Linked DNA regions of Homo sapiens: region 2 is linked to region 1. The links are contacts of gene promoters, found by promoter capture Hi-C in human tissues and cell types (Jung and others, 2019). All regions are on one chromosome and are shown on one strand. The core of a region is centred on a gene start or on the middle of the fragment in contact, and the rest is flanking DNA. Distances in the headings are between cores, read along the strand shown. Region 1 holds the start of SLC46A3 (solute carrier family 46 member 3). Region 2 has its middle 58 kb from the start of GPR12.

Region 1 (5,511 bases), core at 1,870-4,369:
TCCAGGTAGTAATTTTAAGAGTACTCTTAGCTCTTGCCAAATAAGTTCAGGGTATTCAAATCTTGGACTAGTCCTGCAAGGTATAAAGAATAAAAATCCCGGTGAGATACTTGGAAACCTCAGGTTATTATTTATCTGGGCAATTATTGTGTGGGTGAGGATGGAAGGGCAGGGAATAATTGAACATCTAAAGCCTTGAATGAGAGAATACTAATTCTTTTGGTATGATGATACTCAGAAATGGAGATGTTGTAGAAAAAAAATATCCTTTGGAATTTTAACTAAAATCACTGAATATAGGAAATTAAGAGATCCGGGACCATATTTGATAAGATTTCCTAAAAATAATGTAATTATTAATGCCAAAAACTGCTCATGTATCTTGATCTAATTACGAAATAATTACATATTTACCTGATAAATATGTATCTAGGTCTTCAAGGTCACATTTATGTGGAAGTCCAAAGTCAAGTCCTTAGGGGATAATTTTGTTTTGGCTCAGTTGTTCCCTGCTTCCTCTCTCTCTCTTTTTTTTTTTTTTTTTTTTTGAGATGGAGTCTCGCTCTGTCGCCCAGGCTGGAGTGCAGTGGCGCGATCTCAGCTCACTGCATCCTCCGCCTCCCGGGTTTAAGCAATTGTCTACATCAGCCTCCTGAGTAGTTGGGATTACAGGCACCTGCCACCACGCCTGGCTAATTTTTGTATTTTTAGTAGAGACAGGGTTTCACTCTTTTGGCTAGGCTGGTCTTGAACTCCTGACCTCGTGATCCACCCGCCTCGGCCTCCCAAAGTGCTGGGATTACAGGCATGAGCCACATGCCTGGCCCTCCCTGCTTCCTCTCTAGAATCCAATTAGGGATGTTTGTTACTACTTATGTTGATTAAAACAGTTAACAAACTTTTTTTCTTTTTAAAATGTGAGATCAGTGAACTCTGGTTTTAATATAATCTGAAACAAGGTCCTTGGGAGTAATATAATTGGTCACATTCTGTAAAGCACATTCTGTTTAGGAATCACTTATCTCAAATTATAACTCAGGGCCTAACTATATGAGATGGCTGAAAAAATACCACATTGTCTGTTTTCACTAGATGATGCCAAAATATTTTGCTTTACGTATATTACAGTTCTTTTTAAAACACTGGAAGACTCATGTTAAACTCTAATTGTGAAGGCAGAAACTCTGCTAATTTTTCACATTAAAATTCTCTTTGAAAAAATACAAAAAAAAAATGACTGTTGTCACCATAGCGATCAGCAGCAGAACTCATTAAGAAGACCTGGCTTTCTTCTTCGTGTGGAAGAGTAGGAATGCAAAGCGTGGAAGTATATTGGACATTAATTATTTTTGCCCCATAAGAAAGGACATTTTCAGCAGGGCACGGTGGCGCATGCCTGTAATCCCAGCACTTTGGGAGGCTGAGGTGGGCAGGTCCCCTGAGGTCAGGAGTTCAAGATCATCCTGGTCAACATGGTGAAACCCTGTCTCTACTAAAAATACAAAAATTAGCCGGCCATGGTGGCGCACACTTGTAACCCCAGCTACTCAGGAGGCTGAGGCAGGATCATTGCTTGAATCCGGGAGGCGGAGGTTGCAGTGAGCCAAGATCCTGCAACTGCACTCCGGCCTGGGTGACAGAGCGAGACTCCACCTCAAAAAAAAAAAAAAAAAAAAAGGACATCTTCTAAGTGCCGTTTAGAATAATATAGTACTTAGTACAAAGTACTGCAACTTAAAATATTATGTCTTCCTTGCAAACTGTATCTTACTCATGTTTGTTTATCTTCTTTCCAATATCCATGCTCCATTGTTTGAAACTCATAACAAGTGCTTCATAAATGCTGATTTGAAGAAGCTGGGAAGTAAGATTAAGTGGCAAGTCCAAGGTTACCAGCTACTAAGTATCAGTTAGGACTCAAACCTAAGACGTTTAACTCTGCATTCAGTGACACAACTGTCATTTAAGGAGTGCTGAGGAAGAGAAAGCAGCTCTGACATCCAGGTGCTGGAACTATCAGCTGGGCCTTGGTGTTGCTAAGAACTTTTCTGGACCATGGTGTTCTGTCGAATGAAAACAATTTCACGGAACACCAAAGTCAGACAAGAGCATTCTGTAACCATGATCAAGACAAAAACAAGACCACGTCATAATTTTGTCTGAACACGGACAAAATTTAGGCACTGTCTAAACCACAAAAATGACAAATATGTGTGACTGTTGCTTCTTTATCATTCATGGCTTTAGCCTCTGTCTAGTCTTGACTCCTAAATAAGACTTATTAAGATACCCAATCATAGAATTACTGCCATTTCCTGACAGCAACCAATCCAGAGTAAGGCCTTGCTTTCTTGAACTCTTCCCAAAATCACATAACGCAAGCCCATAGTAAATTCTAACACCTTCTTACTGAGATGCCCCCACGGTTCCTCATGCATGCATTTCTCCTGGCTTCAAGAAGTAGTAGCTCAATTCTTTTACTACAAGTTGTTCCTGGTGGGTGTGTTGGAGAGCACTGACAACTCCTCCTATGTCCAGGGGCTGTGTTGTGTATACATGCTGAGTGTTTAATTAGACAACCCTGTAAGACTTATCATCCCCACGTGGCAGATAAAGACATGGAGGTTCATGAAAATTTAACGATTTGCCCAAGTCCCCCCTCCCCTCCCCAGGAAAAGCCAGCGACCACATTCCAACCCTCCGCTAACTCTGCATTGAGCACTCTCTTTCCTATGCCCTCCACCTGCGCCCATTCCCCTCTTCTGCGGGCCGACCGGGATCCTGCTGGGGGCTACAGCCCAAACATGTTACTTTTCCAACTGTTGTTTTATGTGTTTCTATGAGAAAGGATATTCGGATTCAGAAATGCTTTGCAACTCCAGAGCTGTTGAGCCTGCGGCGCGGCCCACCACTCAACAGCGGTGCTGAGTGGCTGCTCGGTCGCGCGGGATCCACTCCGGGCCTCCGAGGGTGGGTGCACGATCCACTAGCCACTCTCCAGGGGAGAGTGACGTCCGGGTGGACCAATCGCCGCTGGGGCACCGACCGCTGGGCCCAATCGCAGGAGAGCCGGGTAGAACAGTGACAGCGCCGCGGCAGCCGACCCCGCCTCCTCGGCGGACAGCGATGCTCAGCTGGCTGCGGCCGAGTCATCGCCTAGCGCTGGCAGGGCCGCTGACCGACCGACGGAGGCGCCGATTGGCCGATTGTCCACTGCGCAGAAGGAGCAGCTGCTCCGCGCCCCGCCGCGCCGCGCTGAGGCCGAGGTCCGCAGGGCCGCGGGGAAGCCGAGGGCTGCCGGAGAACCCTGCAGGTGTCACTCGGGACGCGGAAGTGCGCTTGCCGAGGTTTGCTTTACAATACGCTTGAGACTCCCCGACAAGCGTAATTTGGTCGAGTTCGACGGGAAAGTACTCTCCCCACCCCAGCGCCGGCCGCGTAGTCCGAGGTTACTGTCCCCGGCGCGTCCTCTGTTGCCCCAGTCCAGAGGCTGCCCTTGAACCCGGGCGCGCACGAGCGCAGGGCATCCGAGGCGACAGCCCCTGGCACGGCCCGACCTGTACCCAGCCTGGCAGGAAGACTGTAATCGTGGGGTGAGTTAAAAATAAGGCCCTTTCGATTGGGAGCTGCTTTTTAAAACGCCCCCTCCCTGTCCGTTTTTAATACGCAGCAAAATAACAATAACAATTGTGCAACTGTCGCTTCCCAAAAGGAACCTCATTGTTGAACTTACGAAAAATCAGTTGGCAATATACAGTGTGGGAACTGTACTGTGATCATTGGCTAACCAAGATGGGTGACAGTTTATGATTTCAAAGACTCAAAGGCGGCTTGAGTCCTACAATGTCCTACTCATAAAAATGGAAAGCATGGCAGCCTCAGGTTGTTACAGAGTACTCTACTCCAAAGTAAAAGTTATTCTCTGAGAAAGTGCTTACTGCCTTTTCTGTTCTCTAGTTTGCTTGTTTAAACATTTACTCCACAAAATTGCTCAAACTTACCCATCTTTGAATATCTAGCCTCTGGGATGAGACAGATGATCTTTCTCCGTTTTCACTTTTTATAGAATACAGCTACCTACCCAGGCAATATGAAGATTTTATTTGTAGAACCTGCCATTTTCCTTAGTGCATTTGCTATGACTTTGACCGGTCCACTGACAACGCAATATGTTTATCGGAGAATATGGGAAGAAACTGGCAACTACACTTTTTCATCTGATAGCAATATTTCTGAGTGTGAAAAAAACAAAAGCAGCCCAATTTTTGCATTCCAGGAGGTAAGAAATTACAATATCCATAGTATTTAATAAAATGGGAATGTATACCGGGCTTTGAGTTAAAGAGGACCGTGAACTCATCATCCATTGGTCTCTCTAGGGCGGCCATCAAAGTCCTAAATCCCAAACCTAATGGCCTTTACTGGGAACTCACCTCATTTGAAGTTTCCTGACACCTTTCAAATCTGCCTCTTCTTCTTAAAACACCCTCCTGCTCTGTGACACTAGCTCTTCTCCTTTCTCTCGGAAAATTTCACCACAGTGTCATCTCTTCTGTGGCTGTCTCCTTGCTTTGTCCTAAAAAAAAAAAAAAAAAAAAAAAAAGTCTGAAAATTGGGGCAGGGCAGGCTGGAATGAGCTACTTGGTGGACAGGGGTGGCTGAAACATGGTGTTTCTGTCTCTCACTTGCTCTATTCTTCCCCAATCCTTTTACTGTTTCTGCATGTCCCAGCTTTCAGGGACTCTAGAAAGTGGCCCATCACTGAAGATTGTGAGCCAGTGTCTGTCACAGGGTGGGGTGGAGGAGCATTTATTATTTGGTGGTGGTATCAAATCAGCCTTGGCTCTCACGTGTTGAGGAGCAGCTGTGTGGGGACATCTGGAGTGGGGAGTACCCACCGTTGACACCAAAGATGTTTAGCCAGATATTAAGGAGGCTTTCTTCCTCCCTCTCCAGCAATCTCCCCAGTTTTTTTGTGTGTAAAACAGGAGGCAGGCACTTCACCATTCTCCTGGTCCCTTGGGCAGTTTTTGACAAAAGTCTACCATTTCAAAATGCAAAGAGATAGTATCCAGGTTTGGAAATTTTTTTTTTTTTCCTACAATGCCTCAAAAACAAATCACACCTGTAAACTCTAAACTCTTCTTCTGGGGGATATTTTGTGATTGTAAAGGAGTGGTGCTGCCTTCCCAGTGAAAGATGAAATGAATTAAAAGGAATTGAGTCACCTCCTGCTGGCTCTGTGAGTCTCTGTGACTGGGAGAAGAGCCTGAGAAGGAGGAAATGGCAAACCGCCCCAGAGGCAAGGTTCTAGCACTTCCCGAGGTGTCAGGTGGAACCTTGCTGGGGTGAGGTTAGGCAATTTGGCACAATCCCTAATCTTACTCATTTCCTCATTCCCATGGGAAACGTTTTCTTGGGAGTGATTATTTCTGAGCAGCCTGGAAGACATCAAGGTTCTGGCGTAGAGTAAGGTCATAAAAAAAAAGGGCCCTGAGTCTCACCCAGCGG
Region 2 (5,511 bases), core at 2,186-4,685, 1.9 Mb after region 1:
GCTTCCAGGGAAGGGCCTGGGCTTTGCAACCTTGATACAGCCCTTCAGACATGGTGATGCTGCGTGATAAATGCTGCAGAATATATAACTGACAACGTGTAAACCTTCCCTCTGTGTCAGAAAACACTTGTGGATCCTGGCAAATCTCCCCTATCCCATCACTGACTCCTGCAGTTAATAACGGCGGTTGCAAGTCTCCTTTACATACATTGATCTCGGGTCCTCACTAAAACCTTGTGAGGGAGGTACTTTTATTCCCTACTTAGAGAGAAGAAATGGAGGCTCAGGGAAGATGAGCTACTTGCCCTGGTGACAGCTGCCGAGTGGTAGAACTGGGATTGGAGTCGGTCCATGTGACTCCAAAGCCATATTCTTCACACTCAACCCTTTCACTCCTGCCCCACCCTTTCCAGTTTTGTCTGGTGCCAGTTAAACCACACTCTGCCTTCAGACATCAGGCCTCCACAGGGAGCTCCAGCACAGCAGAGGCACTGTGTACAAGGGCTCCAGGTCCTGCTGGGCATCCCCACTCCACAGCACCTCCGTGGATCCTGACCACAGACACCCACTCCTCGGCTCTTGCATTTGCCTCAGCCTAGGTTAACTAGGCTCTGTGGATTTGGGAGACAGAGCTCTCCATATCCTGACTGTTCTGCGGCTGGGGCACCCACCCTGCCCTGGACTCGGTGGTATGTGGCCCTGACCTTCCCTCCAGCTCCCCACCCTCTCCCTGCGCCAGCTACTGGAAGGGAACTCGTCCTGCTGCCCATCAGAGCACCCAAGATAAGACACGCTTGCTTCTCCTTCCTTCACTTCCCAGCTCGGCTCCCCAAATTTCTTACACAAAGCTGCTCTTCCACAGGCCACGTTTTGAATGAAAAGCAAAAGTGGGAACAGGATACACAACATTTACATGATCTGGGCCAATTCCCCTGGGTAGCTGTAGCTTCTTAGTGTCCTAGAGTAACAAACCAGAGGCAGAAACTTTCTCGCTCAAATACATTTTCCATTTTCCATCCTAAACACCCCACGCACCCACTGTCTTAGTCCATTTGGGCTGTGCTGCGGGACAAATATGTCCCCAAACTTTATATGTTGGAAACTTAATCCCTTGTCAGCAACAGCGTTGAGAGGTGGGACTTTTAAGAGGTGATGAGGTCATGCAGGCTTTGCCCTCCTGAGTAAATTAACAACACTGTCTTGTAAGATAGTTTGGATAGTAATGAGTAAGTTTGTTAGGAAAGCAAGTTCGGCTCCCTCTCATGCATTCTCTCTCTCTCTCTCTCTCTCTCTGTCTGTCTCATGCTCTCTTGCCCTTCTGCTTTCCACTATGGGATACCACAGCAAGAAGCCCCTCACCAGGTGCAGCCTCTCAAACTTGGACTCCCCAGCCTCTAGAACCGTAAGAAAGCAATCTCTGTTCTTTACAAATCATCCAGTGTCAGACATTCTGTTATAGCAGCATGAAATGGACTAAGACAGGCTGCTATAACAAGATACTACAGAATGGGTGGTTTGTAAACAATAAAAATGTATTTCTCACAGTTCTGGAGGCTGGAAAGTTCAAGACTAAGGTACCAGTAGATCAAATGTCTCCTGAGGGCTCGATTCCTGGTTTGCAGACGGCACCTTCTTTTTGTGTCCTCATATGGTGAAGAGAACGTCTCTCTTGTGTTTCTTCTTACAGGGTCACTAATTCCATCATAAGAGCTCCATCCTCCTGACCTCATTACCTCCAAAGGCCCCACCTCCTAATGCCATCATAGGGATTAATGCTTCAATATATGAATCTGGGGGGGACACATATATTCAGTCCACAGGACCCACACACCACACATGTGTTTCTAAGCTAAGGGAGCTGTAATCAGCCAGCCGTAAGCAAAGGTATTTGCAGTTTCCTGAAGTAGGCCCCAAACAGAGCAGACCCACAGTCACAGGAATATATGGCTGGATTCCCTACAGGAGAGAACTTTGAGCTTGGGTGGAGAATGAAGCAGGCGACAGATGCAAAATTCTTCAGTTGTGGCTCCTCTTTTTTCTGTTTCAATATTAGGTTTTCTTTTGATTGAACAAGGCCTGGGCAGCATCAGGCCCCTGCAACCTTAACTTCTTAGCACTCTGAGCTAACAAACTAGCCCCTAAATACAGACGAAAGCAGATGGTGTTGCAAGCGCTTAGTACACAGAGGGAGCTTCTGCATGCTGTCTCGCTCCTGCATTGTCACAGCACACTGGGGCTCAGCAGACAGGAGGCTATTTATGGATTCACAAGTTAAGAAGTATGTGTCTGTTGGAACAGGAAGAGTCCCAACTCCCTATTGACACCTTCCAAATGGCAGCAGAGTAACCCTCAAATTGCAAGCTGTCTCTAGGCTCAGCATCCAATTTCCAGGACTCATTGACAGACAGAGGACCCTGTCACATTTATCCCTATTGAAATATTCCTGCCTTAGTGAGGGATGCCTCTCGGTCCAGACGATAGGCCCTTGCTCAGACCTCAGCATATTTGGCAGTGGACAAATTCATCTGCAGACTGAAAGTTGAATTGTGTTGAAATTCAGGACAAATCTCAAAGCAGATTTATAAAGCTTAAATTAGCATTTAAAAGCTACAAACAAAACACTGAGTCCAAATAAACTAAGTTAAAAAAGTCTTAATCTTTTCAACTCAGTGATATATATATGTATATGTATGTGTGTGTGTTTGTGTGTGTGTGTATATATATATATATATATATATATATATATAGAGAGAGAGAGAGAGAGAGAGAGAGAGAGTGAGAGAGGAGAGAGAGAGAGAGAAAGAGAGAATAAAACTCACTCTGTTGCCCAGGCTGGAGTGGTACCATCATGGCTCATTGCAGCCTCCACCTCCCAGGCTCAGGTGATCCTCCCGCCTCAGGCTCTTGAGTAGCTGGGACCACAGATGTGTGCCACTATGCCTGGCTAATTTTTGTATTTTTTGTAGACATGGGTTTTCACCATGTTGCCCAGGCTGGTCTTGAACTCCTGGGCTCAAGCAATCTACCAGCCTCAGCCTCCCAAAGTGCTGGAATTACAGGCATGAGCTACTGCACCCAGCTGACAGTATATTTTAAAAATCATTTCTATGTCTTCTCTATTCAATTGGCAGGTCAACAATGTAGCGTCATTAACATCAACAGGTGGAATCCAGCCCCTGTACTAGTGTAGGACAGGTGCGCTGGATATCCTGTCTTTAAGCCCAGGAGGACTAGATTGGATTGCATCTTTAAGCATCTTTCTTGCTGCAGAAAGGGAAGTGGATAGGGGAAAGTTAGGGGAGGTGGGGAGATAAATTAGGTGGCCCTTAAAGGAGCCCAGATGTCCTAATGTCAGACAATGGTTGTGGGGTTGAGAGAAGTGGTTAGATTCAAAGGTATTTGGGAAGTAGACACATCTGCCCATCACAGCCTCCCTGGTTTCTCAGCCTTGCCCTGATTGTGGTTCTGATATTCCCTGGCACTGAGCTGCTCACCTGGAGGGTTCTTACGCCTCTGGTTCCCTGAGTTTGCCTCCTCTTTGGCAGTTTCTTGCCCTGAGCCCCAGCCCTGCCTCCCCAATCTGCAAAGTCACGACAGGAACAGATGCATTTGTTTGTGTAAGCCCAAGACACTTTTTTTTAAAAGTGCTTGCTATGCTCCAGGATTGGGCTAGGCTCTTGAATGTGTTTTCTTGTCGAATCCTCCCAATAATTGTAGAAAATCTTTATCATTCCCATTTTACCAACTAGAAACAGAAGGCTCAACTTCCTGAATAAGTTCACACAGTTACAGAGTGACGTTAGACAGGAGACAGATGTGTCTAACTTGAAAATCCATGCTTTTCCCAACACATGGCCAGGTATTACATTTAACTCTATTATTAAGAGACTATATTATATCATTGCCTGCCAGTGAATGATTATAAATTTAGGTAACCTTGAGCAGAGAGGTGCTGTCTTGATTCTCAAGCAAGACATAAACATTGCTACAACGTGGCATCAGCAGACCTAATAATGAAGACATTTCTTTAAATGTAAAACAATATGCTGAGAGAGATACCATGAACCGTCTCTATGTCACCCCCCCAGCCCTCACTATTTTTTTTTCCTATTAGCTCATTACTGCTTGTTTTGAAACCAGCGGAAAGCTGACACGGCACCAATTTTGTTCTGCAATTTTAACATGTGGTTGATTGTTTCACTGCATTTTAACTTTCTGTCTAGCTCAAGAAAAATGTGGTTAAAAAAATACTGGAACTGTTTTTGGACACTATAAAAATGTTGCCATTTAATCATAAAACTGTGAGCTCCTTGGGGGCAGCAATGGATGTTTTTATCCACCACTGTGTACCCAGCTTGTGGCACATGGCTCGGGCTCCGGAATGCGTGTCAGATGACACTGAACTGAAGGAATTCTTCACGATCACCCAGTGCAGCAGCCCAGGCCTACAGCAAGACTGCATTTGATCCTTCACTGCCTTTAAAAAATCTCACTGTGCCCTGCAGCCAGCATCATGGAGAAGCAGCCCCAAGACCCCCTGAAAAGTTAGTTCACCTTTCTCCTGAACCGTTTACCCTGACCCATGTCGCTCACCGACCTGCGATTTTCTATTGGGTCTCCCACCTTTTGACCGATCCCCCAATTAGCCTCCCAAAAAATGGACTTTGTTAAGGGTTGAATTGTGCTCCACTGCAACTTCATGTGATGAAGTCCTAACCCCAGTGCCTCAGCACGGGACCTTATTTGAAAGTAGGGTCGTTATATGTAATTAGTCAAGATGATGTCACACTGGAATAGGGTGGTCCCCAATCCAGAATGACTGTGTCCTTGTGAAAAGAACACCAGGTGAAGAACAGACACACAGAGCGCTGCATAAAGATTGGGGTTCTGCTGCCACAAACCAAGGAATTCCTGAAAGCCAGGAGAGAAGCCTGGAACAGGTCCTTCGCCAGTGCCCTCAGAGGTTGCATAACCCTGTGGACACCTTGATCGTGGACTTGGCTGCCAGAACAGTGAGACAGGACATTTCTGTTGTTTCAGCTGCTCCATTTGTGGCATTTTGTTGCGGCAGCCCCAGCCAGCTAGCACAGCTTGCTGACCGGGCCTTGCACTTCGCGCCCATCTTGCTGGCCACCCTCACTTTCGTCCCAGCCCTTCTGCCTCTGGCTACTCTGAGTGATCAGCTCACCTGGCCAGGCTGCCACACCCAGATGGTGTCCTGTCCCAGCAGCACTGACATAGAAATATAACAGAGCTGTTGTCCCACTGACAGAAATATAACAGAGCTGTTGTCCAGTTGCTACTTCTGTGTTTGATACCCGAGTGACCATTCCCCTCAGAGGTAACTTAGGGTGAGCAGGGGGTTGGGGTGTGGCTCCTCAGGGAGCATCTAGGGACCCCCCTTCCTGTGCTCCACCACTTGGAGTCCACTGGCTTTAATAATGGGGATCCATTATTAAACTCAGAGAAAAATGACTGACCCCAGTAGAAGCCTACAGCTTGTGACTGTGT

Evidence for each region. Contacts are between HindIII fragments. The study calls those that stand out against the background at their distance.
Region 2: a contact is called between a fragment that was not itself captured here and the fragment with the promoter of SLC46A3 in region 1, in 1 of the 25 tissues and cell types used here (stomach).

What each region holds. Positions count from the first base shown.
Region 1 is chr13:28,716,578-28,722,088 of GRCh38, reverse strand. It overlaps SLC46A3 (solute carrier family 46 member 3), which reads left to right and starts at 3,119. Exons shown (of 6, transcript NM_181785.4): 1 at 3,119-3,593; 2 at 4,067-4,279. The coding sequence starts at 4,091. It also overlaps the pseudogene CYP51A1P2. The HindIII fragment of the contact is 18,064 bases long and covers 1-5,511 here.
Region 2 is chr13:26,815,979-26,821,489 of GRCh38, reverse strand. No RefSeq gene overlaps it. Among named protein-coding and RNA genes, the nearest start is that of GPR12, 58 kb to the right of the region's middle. The HindIII fragment of the contact is 7,529 bases long and covers 1-5,511 here.